Regions from separate parts of the Homo sapiens genome. Here region 1 is linked to region 2. Evidence: promoter capture Hi-C in 16 types of primary human blood cells and fetal thymus (Javierre and others, 2016). All regions are on one chromosome and are shown on one strand. Each heading gives the region's core, a stretch centred on a gene start or on the middle of the fragment in contact. The rest is flanking DNA. Distances are from core to core; before and after follow the strand shown. Region 1 holds the start of RAB33A (RAB33A, member RAS oncogene family). Region 2 holds the start of STK26 (serine/threonine kinase 26).

What was found. Contacts are between HindIII fragments. The CHiCAGO score rates a contact against its expected background, and 5 or more counts as called.
Region 1: a fragment that was not itself captured here is called in contact with the fragment with the promoter of STK26 in region 2 in 1 of 17 cell types (naive CD8 T cells); the score reaches 6.6 in naive CD8 T cells.

What each region holds. Positions count from the first base shown.
Region 1 is chrX:130,167,612-130,173,257 of GRCh38, forward strand. It overlaps RAB33A (RAB33A, member RAS oncogene family), which reads left to right and starts at 4,351. Exons shown (of 2, transcript NM_004794.3): 1 at 4,351-4,709. The coding sequence starts at 4,452. RefSeq lists enhancers at 3,075-3,124, 3,934-4,888 and silencers at 3,505-3,564, 3,735-3,814. The HindIII fragment of the contact is 882 bases long and covers 2,128-3,009 here.
Region 2 is chrX:132,020,147-132,025,752 of GRCh38, forward strand. STK26 (serine/threonine kinase 26) reads left to right here and starts at 3,156. Exons shown (of 12, transcript NM_016542.4): 1 at 3,156-3,261; 2 at 3,362-3,513. The coding sequence starts at 3,472. RefSeq lists enhancers at 2,704-3,250, 2,738-2,787, 3,238-3,397, 3,251-3,798, 3,768-3,837 and a silencer at 2,948-3,197. The HindIII fragment of the contact is 2,994 bases long and covers 1,198-4,191 here.

The sequences.
Region 1 (5,646 bases), core at 1,319-3,818, 1.9 Mb before region 2:
ATGCGCCTGTAATCCCAGCTACTAGGGAGACTGAGGCAGGAGACTCGCTTGAACCTGCCAGGTGGAGGCTGCAGTGAGCCAAGATTGTGCCACTGCACTCCAGCCTGGATGATGGAGCAAGACTCTGTCTCCAAAAAGAAAAAAATAAAGAAGTAGTGATAAAGACAGGCAAGTATGGTGGGGGGCCAGATTTGAACTGGCAAGAGTTGGGCCCTAACTTTGGAGGTAATGAAGTTACTTTTTTTTTTTTTTTGGTGGAATGGGGATAGAGAATGAAATTACAGGGCCGGGTGCAGTGGCTCATGCCTGTAATGCCAGTACTTTGGGAGGACGAGTGGGAAGATTGCTTGAGGCCAGGAGTTCCAGACCAGCCTGAGCACATAATGAGACATCATCTCTACCATTTTTTTTTTAAATTAGCCAGGCGTGGTGGTATGTGCCTGTGGTTCCAGCTACTCAGGAGGCTGAGATGGGAGGATCACTTGAGCCTAGGAGATCGAGACTGCAGTGAGCAGTGATTGCTCCCGTGCACTCCAGCCTGGATGACAGAGCGAGACCCTATTTCAAAAAAGAAAAAGAAAGAAATTACAAAGATACTCTTTTTTTTTTTTTTTTTTTCTTGAGACGGAGTCTCCCTTTGTCACCCAGGCTGGAGTGCAGTGGCAGTATCTCGGCTCACTGCAACTTCTGCCTCCCAGGTTCAAGCAATTCTCCTGCCTCAGCCTCCCGAGTAGCTGGGATTACAGGCAGATGCCACCGCGCCCTGCTAATTTTTCTATTTTTAGTAGAGACGGGGTTCCACAATGTTGTCCAGGCTGGTCTTGAACTCCTGATCTCAGGTGATCGCCCGCCTCGGCCTCCCAAAGTGCTTGGATTACAGGCATGAGCCACCTCGCCCGGCCTACAAAGACACCCTTCTGTGAAGTTTAACCCAGGAAGTAGTTTTGTTTTTTGGTTTTCTTTAAGAGACAGTCTCATTACGTTGCCCAGGCTGGTCTTGAACTCCTGGGCTCAAGCAATCCTGCTGCCTCAGCCTCTCAAAGTGTTGGGATTACACGTGTGAGCCACTGTGCCAGGCCTAGGAAGTAGTCATTATGTGGTGAAGATGATCCAGGGCTCCCTTACCCATTAAGCAGAGTAGATCAGTGTTCAGAAGTGCAGGCAATGGGTGACATTTTATCTAGAGCTCCTTTGGATAAATATTGAAAATATGGTCAGGCTCTGTGGCTCATGCCTGTAATCCCAGCACTTTGGGAGGCCGAGGAGGGTGGATCACTTTAGGCCAGGGGATAAATATTGAAAGTATCAATTCCAGGCCGGGCACGGTGGCTCATGCCTGTAATCTCAGCACTTTGGGAGGCCAAGGCGGGCGGATCACGAGGTCCGGAGATCGAGACCAGCCTGGCTAACACAGTGAAACCCCGTCTCTACTAAAAATACAAAAAAATTAGCCAGGCGTGGTGGCGGGCGCCTGTAGTCCCAGCTACTTGGGAGGCTGAGGCAGGAGAATGGCGTGAACCTGGGAGGCGGAGCTTGCAGTGAGCCGAGATTGTGTCACTGCACTCCAGCCCGGGTGACAGAGCGAGACTCCATCTCAAAAAAAAAAAAAAAAAGTATCAATTCCAAAGTAAGGTAAAAATTATTTATATTTACTTAACATTTTAACAGCCTTGCATTGATTTTTATTGATATTTGTAAAAACCAATAATCATGGATTGATTAAATACAAAGTTAATTATATCTGATGGCAAAAGAGACTGGAAAACACTGTCAAAATCATGATAATCAGGTACCTATGAAAACAACTGCATGTATTTGAAAGTAATTTAATAATGCACAATTAACACAAAGGGCATTGTACAGTACATTTAATTTTTTTACAATAGGTACAATAAGGTAGTTTTCCTGTCCTTTTAATTAAAAATTATATTTTTATCTTTTTTCAAAAGCAATATATACTCATTGAATTAATTCCAAAAAATATAAGTGGAAATCCCCCAAAGTCTCACCCCACAGAAGTAACAGACACCTTTTATTAGGGCAAGAAGCCCATTTTGAGATATCATATTTTCAGAAATCAAAGTTTCTTCCTTACAAAAGTAGACTCAGTGACAAGTTTTTGCTAGAAGCTTACATTGAAATAATCTTATTATGTACATATGTTTTTTTAATATCTCTCAGGAAGTTAGCATTAATTCTAGCTGTGAATTGGCAAAGGGCAAAGCCCCTTTCTACTTTGTGTACAGGATGTACCTAATTAATAGTTACCCCTCTCCACCTTAAAGCTATTCTGTAGATAAAGATCATCAGGGGCATTAACTTCCAATACAGAGGGGAACGATCCAGCAAACTAGGCATCAGACTAATCAAAACCAAAAATACTGTACAATGATGATTGATACATAATACAATGAAAATTGGTATTCATAAGGATGATTTTGGATTAGCCAACTAAGAGGAAATCCTTATCTGGGTAGTTTTAATGCTGAGTAGTATAATGTAGGGTTTTAGAAATGGGCGACCCACATATATGATAAAAGGGTTAGCTGTAAATATATCTGCTAGCTCAGCTAATAAACTTATTAACTGGAAGATGCCATTCTGAGTAACTTGGACGTCCTTGAGTAGTCACATTCCAATTTGCTTTCAGGTATATCACTGATGCACTGAATTGTTTTTCTCTCAGCAGAAATGGATTTGGTCATGTTTGTCTCTTCCTGCAGCTCAACCTCCCAAATAAGATGGCAGCTCAACTGTGCTGTTTGAATCCCTGACCTTGATGGCATTAGCAATAACTCACGAGTCAGTGCTAGTGACATGTGTCAGTGTTACCTTAGCTTATGAAATATGTAGGGGGAGAGGTAAAGTCTTAAAAGAAACAAATGGGTGCACTTTATCGTATGTAAATTGTACCCCCAGTAAAGTCGATTTCAAACAAATTCTGAACCCGCGAATGACTTTAGGGAGAAGGAATACTGGTCTTGACCAAGATGTGTGTGATGATTAGTAAGCTTTGGGCAGCAGCCCCCTAATACTGTAAGGAGGTTGTGTTCATTTATCATCTTCCAAGCATAATCTAGGCTTCTGGCAAATTAGACCCAACCACTTTGTTCTACATTCAGCTGCAGGGGGAGGTGAACCCTCCTAGGGATTCCCAACTCCCTCTGAAACTCCAGCGTTCTGGAGGGACTTATGGTTATATGGAGGGCTTGGGAATGGAAGGCACTGTGGAGCTTATGCCATTGTCCCAAGATCCTCCACCTGGGCCAGTAATGGCTAGCCCCGTAAACAAAGTCCCCTTTTGCTGGAACTGCCACCACTAGCTTCCCCCCCTTCTCCTAGCCTCTGTGTGGCCCTCTCCCGCGGCGGGCCTTCCCCATTGGCCAGCCAAACACAACCGACTGCGGCAGCCAATAGGAGCCGCTCTCCTGAACATTCAGAGGATGGGTGCGCGTGGTGTGATAAGGGGATGTTGGCGCCTGGTACGCGCCCCCCTACATCTGGCAAGTCTGTAACAGAAACAGTTACACCCCCTACACACGCACACGCGTGCCCGCTGGCTCCCTCCTCTCAGCTGTACAGGCCCCGGACAACCCACTGCGTGTCTTGGCAGCGGCCTCCCAGGCTGCCTGGGGCCCGCGAGTGCACCTGCTCACTCATTAAGACAGAGCATCCCTTTATCCCAAGGCGCGGGTCGGGTAGAGGGTGGGGGTAGAGGGGACGGGGTAGCGGGGACCGGGAAGGCGCGGCTCAGCTGCCCGCTGCTCCCGAGGTGAAAGAGGTGCCTCCGCCCCCACCCCATCCCCGCAGAGTTGCGTTGCTCCAGGGAGGCCGAAGTGATCCAGTGATGTCTTAAGGTGCAGCTCTTTGTCCTCCCCAGCTGTGCTCCCTGCCCGCTGACCCCGTGCGCTCGAGCCAGTGGGGGTGGGGAGCCCGAAACCTATAACATAAACGGGGGCAAGGAGAAAGAAGTCTATCCCGGGGTGGCGTGTGCCGCTGTCCCCACCCCGTCTCTTTCCTCCTGAGGCTTCTTCCCTCGGGTCCGTCCCGGGAATGCAGGCAGGGGAGGGTGTGGGCCGAGGCGCGGCGGCGGCTGGAGCAGCGCGGTAGGGTCCTTCGCCAGAGCATCCGGTCCGAGGGCGCACACAGGCAGAAGGCTCGCGGCTCGTCCACTCTCCTCCCTCTCTCCTCCTCTCCCTGGCTTTTGTGTTGGTGCCTCCGAGCTGCAAGGAGGGTGCGCTGGAGGAGGAGGAGGGGGGCCCGGAGTGAGAGGCACCCCCTTCACGCGCGCGCGCGCACACGGTGCCGGCGCACGCACACACGGGCGGACACACACACACGCGCGCACACACACACGCACAGAGCTCGCTCGCCTCGAGCGCACGAACGTGGACGTTCTCTTTGTGTGGAGCCCTCAAGGGGGGTTGGGGCCCCGGTTCGGTCCGGGGGAGATGGCGCAGCCCATCCTGGGCCATGGGAGCCTGCAGCCCGCCTCGGCCGCTGGCCTGGCGTCCCTGGAGCTCGACTCGTCGCTGGACCAGTACGTGCAGATTCGCATCTTCAAAATAATCGTGATTGGGGACTCCAACGTGGGCAAGACCTGCCTGACCTTCCGCTTCTGCGGGGGTACCTTCCCAGACAAGACTGAAGCCACCATCGGCGTGGACTTCAGGGAGAAGACCGTGGAAATCGAGGGCGAGAAGATCAAGGTGATCCAGGGGGTCAGGTCCAGGAAGGGTGGGACCCGGGAGGGGACCTCGCCCGAGGCATAGCTCTAGCGGTTGTCGTCGTCCAGCGTCCAGCGCGTGGCGGTTTCGCCTCTTGCTGAGCCGAGGACCCTCGGCTCCTCCTCACCCCTTTTCACCTCTCTCAGCGGGGCCCCGTCCCCACTTCACTCAGTTTTTTAGGGCGGTTGAGAATGGGGTTGCATTCTTACCCTTAGCCCCTGCCTGACAGGTCCTGCCAGGAAAAGCATGTTGGATTCCCATCCATGACCCCTACCCCGAGCAGCGGCACCTGTGGGCAGAGGGAGGCAGGAGGCATCTGTGGGTCCTAGTCTCTGGGATGGATCCCAAAGCACTTTACACATCCTGATGTCTCTTCTACTGCTTGGGTGCCGATAGGCTGCAAAACCCCACTTTGGCTAAGCCTCAAGGCGTTAGAGGGAAGGAAATGATGGAAATCCATGGAGAATGAAAAAGCTGCTTTATTTTAAATTGCAGTTTATAGTTAAAAAATTAGGGCTGAGTTGAGATGGCGGTGGAGTGGGGTGGTTCTGGCAGAAAGCCATGAGCCCTTTTAAAGAAATTGAGGCAGGGTCCAGCCCTTCGTAATAGACAAAACTTGTTTTTTTGTAACAGCCCCCCTGGAATGATATCTTCTTTACTTGTCTGGGGCATCTAATACATGAACTGCTCCTTATTCATTCTGTTGGTATTGTCTTCAGGTCTTTGTAAAAATGCAGTGACTTAACCGAGGGCCAGGGGAATGTTCAATCCTCCCCCTCCATGAGTTTATGTAATAGGCTAAGTGCAAATATTCTTGTCTGACCATTTGTGCTCACCTTTAATTCAGAAAAGGTAGAAACCTGATATGACAGGAATATGTCAATGTGCAGGGGATGGCGGGAGGGAGGACATAACAAGG
Region 2 (5,606 bases), core at 1,906-4,405:
TAAGTTGTGTCTCTCCTCAAGAAACGTTTTCCATTAAACTACGGGAATACACTGTAATATATTTTCAGACTCTGGGCTGACTTTTTTTTTTTTTTTTTTTTGGAGATGGAGTCTCGCTCTGTGGCCCAGGGCGGAGTACAGTGGCATGATCTCAGCTCACTGCAACTTCTGCCTCCCAGGTTCAAGCAATTCTCCTGCCTCAGCTTCCAGAGTAGCTGGGATTACAGGCACACACCACCATGTCCAGCTAATTTTTGTATTTTTAGTAGAGATGGGGTTTCGCCATGTTGGCCAGGCTGGTCTCAAACTCCTGACCTCAGGTAACCTGCCCGCCTCGGCCTCCCAAAGTGCTGGGAACAGGGGTGAGGCACCACGCCTGGCCTGGGCTGACAATTTGAAGTAAAATATTTAAGTTTCCTTTGTGTGTGTGTGTAACAAAAGCGTACTTGAATTTCTTGTCATTTTATTTAAGAATTTGAGAAATAATCCAGTTCAAAGTGGAAAAAAAGTTTCTAATGCTCATAAAATTTGAATTGTTTTCAAATGTTGACACCTTCACAAGATTTAATTTATAGATACACACACACACACAGACACAGACACACACACACACACACACAGGAAAAATCATTTAAAAGCCCACAAGCAATCCCATGTAAAAACTCAAGTGATCTCTATCAATTATAACAACAACTGATGCTTTATTTAATAGCAGTAAACCTAAATAAAGGCTAAAAAGCTCACTAAGATCTCAAATGCAATGTCTTTCAGGAAATGTCTCAATATTCCAGGTCTCAGCATTAAGCTTTTATTCTTCCACATAGTTACATAACTCTGGCCCAGAATGATGTCAGAGAAAGTCATTTCTCTGATATGCTTAATTTACTTATCTATCAAAATTATACAACTGGCTCATAAGTAGTTGTGAAATTAAACTAGCAGGAAAGAATTTTGGAGACTAAATAATGAAAGATGTAACACACAATAAACTGAACAATTTAAATGTTCAGTAAGGGCAATGCCTAGGGGTTTAACCTGACATCAATAAAATATATAGTGTATACATTATGCACCTAGTAACCTCAGTGGAGAATTCAAAAGAAGTTCATTCATTCATTCAACAATTATTTATTGAGGGCCTACTACATGCCATGAACCTAGTCTCTGGGGATACAGCAATGGACAAAATGTATAAAAAGCTTGCCCTCAGACTCCTGCCATCCTACCTGAATCATTCTCATGTAAGAGAGGCTGGATCTCTGCCCTCAAGGACCTAATATGGGCACACAAAACAAATGAAATATATGAAATAAGAAGAAAGAACTACAGTGTGAGCGCTGCTCACATTGGAGGAGTTTGAAGGAGGGCTTGGAGCAACTAGGAAGGGTCAATGGAGGTGAGATTTGAGACAGGTCTTAAATGATGGAGCTTGATTCAGACCCTTGCGACTTAAAAGTGTGATCTAAACATCATCACCATGTGAGAGCTTGTTAGCATTGCAGAATCTTGGGCCCAGTCCAGACATGGGAGATAAAAATCTGCGCTTTTGAGGGAGCAAAAGAACCCTCGGATTTCTATGGACATTAAAAGTTTAGGTGGCACTGCAGGTTTCCGGTCAGGCTGGCAATGTTGTGAGCTGGGTTGGTGGGAAATCGAGACTAGATTGGAGCCTAACATTAGGTTAGAAATAGTGAAGGGCTGGACTTGGGGAACTAGGAGTAAGGAAAATGCAATTGTACCTTTTATCATCATTAAACACAAACAGAAACCATAGAGAAAGTAGTAAGTTTATCACCAGTCAGAGGGACCTGCGTCTGAATTCCCAGCTGTACCACTTCTTAATTGCGTGACATTTCGGTCAAATTATTTAACCTGGTTGAGCCTTTTTCTTCATCTGTAAAATGAGGGGAAATCAATAAGACTCCAGAAGGCCCTTGTACAGGTTCAGTAAGGTATTAATAACACATAGAAAGCACTTAGCAGTCCCTGGCACAATGAAAATAATATCCATTAATAATAACGATATTGATAAGAATTATATACTATTCTCTGAAAAAGATTTAAAAGGAAGAAGAGAAACTATCTTTTACCACTAGAGGCCCCCCACCGTGTGGTGCGTAGAGACCCATAACAAATTTCAAGGTAAGGAACTTCATCTTCATTTTAAACTGGCACTCGACTATTACTTTTTTAAAAAGTAATTAACCCCTTACGTGTTCCCAAAGGTGCCTTCATAATGAAATTCCTGTTACTATTATTACCAGTGTTACTGTCGCTACTGTTAGAGTACTCTCAAAAGAGCCTGTCTCCCTCTCCTGGAGTAGAACTTAAAATGGGGCGGAGGCAGGGAGTTACCAAAACCACTGCAGTGTATGCTGATTTCAATAACCTGTACTGCTAACGATCCAATCTCATTTCCCAAGCCTCTACTATCCTCATTAATTTTTCTGCCGATGTACCATCTGTTTTCCAATTTCCCTCTGCCTTACACGTGCAGAACTTGTGGTAGAGAGAAGCCCTAGTTTGGCCGTTCTGCAAGGGATAGCCCAGGAGGTAGGGGGAACCTTAAGTTGAAGTCACCTGAAGCATGTTTGGGGTCAGGGAACTCGGAAAGCAAGAGTGTGGCCACAGATCTGCCCAGAGGCGCGACCCCCAGCTGAGGAGACCAGATGGCGGGAAAAAGCGGGGGTCCACCGACTCCGCGGCTATCTGTAATCCTACCCTTGGCCAGGCCGGGGAGCCAAGAAAGACTTCCAACACTCCCCAAGTTTCAGCTCAAGTCGTCTCCGAGGCTGCGTGTGCCCCAGCCTCGCACGCCTCCCTGCAACGTGGCCGCATCTGGGGCGCCCTCATACCCTCAGGGTTTCCCAAACTCTTCCATTCTCTTCCCAGGCCCAGCCATGTCCCAGGTCTCCGGGTCCCCGGGTTCTCCTCTCCGCGTGCCGGGAGAGTCTCCAGCTTCTCAGACTCCAGCAACCCCAGCCAAACCTCTTCGCTGCCTGGAGCCTTGGCTCCCGCGACACCGCCCGGCTGCGGGGCGGGGGCAGGGCCAACGGCGGAACCGCCCCCAACCGCCTCCCAGGCCAGGCGAGCAGGCGGGTGGCTGGGGCGCCTCCACCTCCTCTTCCTAAAGCGGCGAGGCGCAGAGGAGCGGCATCACTCGAGCCCAGGTCCCAGCCACCACCACTCACAGCGCTCGGCGTTCAGGAAGAGGAGCAGCAGCGGAGGCGGCTGCTTCAGCGGCGGGCGGGCGCCAGAAAGGTAGACTGAGTCCCAGGGAGCTGCGCCGCTAACAGCCCACCTCCTAGCCCCGGGCTACGCGCCGCCAGCCCAGTAACCCCACTTTTGTGTGTCCTCCCAGGCCCCGATCGAAAAGCCTGGGAGGGCCGCCGAACTACCCCCGGAGGGAGGAGCCAGTCCGAACCCAAGGCGCCACCGCCGCAGAAGCGGAGCGAGGCAGCATTCGCCTCCATGGCCCACTCGCCGGTGGCTGTCCAAGTGCCTGGGATGCAGGTGAGGAAGCGCAGGCCGCCCCCGCCGCCCACGTGACTGCTTGGGAGCCCGGTGCGCCCTCGGTGCTGGGCACCGGCGACAAGGGACGGCCCCAGGGCTCCCCTGAGGGCAGGGCCGGTCACTATGGCCAGGTGACCTGGGAGTAGGGCTGGAGGTGTTTCCTGGTGTGTAGGCTAGGTAGTGCTCTTCGCTGGGAAGGCGAGGCGGGACTGGAGCGCGCAACTAGGTGGAGATTGAGGGCGGTTGGGGGTATAAAAATAGGCCAGAGCCACAGACACCTGCGCCTGCTGAGCTTGGCACGGTTGGGGATGGGGGGGCGGAACTTAACCTGGGAGAGATGGAAGTGCCTTGGAATTTGTGGGGTATAACGCGAGTAGTGAGTGCCCTACACCCCCCACCCCAAACACACACTCAAGTTGGGGCGGGGCAACACCAGGGGTGGCGGCGGCGGCGGCTTGAATTGGGCTCTTCCTGTGTGCGTAGGGCTAAGAGAGAGGTGACCTCTTTCTCCCTTTCGGTACTGCTGCTTAAGGGCAAAGTTGTAGCTTGCTCCCCGACCTAGCCCAGCCCATAGTGTGGCGTGAGAAATGCTGGTTCTGTTCAGAGTCACTGAGGTGATGACTTCTCAGCCCCCTCCGTGCCTTTCCCACAAGATGACTGTTACATGTGGTTAAAGGAAGCTTTTTGTCTTGGACAAGGGACTACTGCATGGGACCCAACTTGTTACTCGAAGTCTACCCAGCCCAACCCCCTCCCATTATATTTTCATTTTATTAAAGATAAGCTATGTCAGAAAACTTTTTATGCTGTTATGTTTTTAAATCGGTGCATTTTAGGCTATCTGCTAAGTGTTATCCAAATTTACTAACTTTTTAAAGCATTCATGTTCTATTTTTTTTTCCTTTGCTAGATGGCCTAAACAACCCATTTAGGGGCTAAAACCACTGAAGCCTCAGTCTTTCATGATCTAAAATGTGAAAACAAACTTTTTTGAAGTTCAAAAATAAAATGTTTATAGTAAATAGCTTATATTTCTAGTAGAAATCAAAGAGCTGTAGACTGGGGCCTCAATTTACTTATTGATACATGGAGTTTTTTTTTTTTTTTCAGTGTTCTCATTTTATGAATGTCCACAAAAGTGATTTTTAAATTCTTTCCCAAAATGGGATTTATTTGTGCACCTAGAACTCTTGGTGTGTCCTAAACACCAGACATTTCAGCTGCATTTAGGGCAAGTCTGGGTTGAGTCTCAGGAAGTTAGTGTATATTAAATAAAGAGAGAGAGAGAAAGGGAAATAGGAAATAGTAGGGCTTAAAAAAAAAGATTAATCCACTCAAGCCTTGCAAAATGCCTTAAACTTTCTTCCTCTCAGGCGGCCTCCCCTCTCCTTCCCTCCTTCTTTTCCCCACGCACCCTGCCCCACACCCCATTCATTCAGTTCTGCCTTTGATTGTATCAAGGGAATTCATAGTTCACAATACTAAGTACAGTTTTGCTGTTTGATCTGGGAAAAAGTGACATTTTCTCACCGTGCTCTTCTTTCCATTCTGTGGAGAGTAAAACGATGCACATGTGAAGTTTGTCTCTGAGGGTCTCCATGCTTCTCGCTCCATTGTGTGCGCGAGCCTGCGTGTGTGCGTCAGCAGAGTGAGTGCCTCCAGTTCATCAAGTTTGTGATTCTGGGGAACTCTGTGTGCTGAGGGGAAAATGGTTTCTGATTTTTATTTTATTTGTCTTGAACTTATTGAATTTATATGGTTTAGGAACTGCTTGCTGTTCAGTATTTCTGATTGCTCCCTGCTTTTAATTATCTGAGTTGCCTATCTCTTGAATTTTTAAATCTTAATTAATGTGGATTCGAATGTGAATCATATACTTTAAATTACAAATTCTGCCTTTCACTCTGTGCCCTCTGAGTTGTGATTACTTTGTCCCACCTAATTTGAGTAGGGCAAACATCTCAACGTTAGCAAAGAAGAGAGGAATCTTTTTTTTTTTTTTTTTTGGTCATTCTCTTCATCTTAATGAAATGGTAAATTCTTAACTTCTTATTTCCATTTTATTTCTAATGTAGTTCTTAAGCACTTTGTGC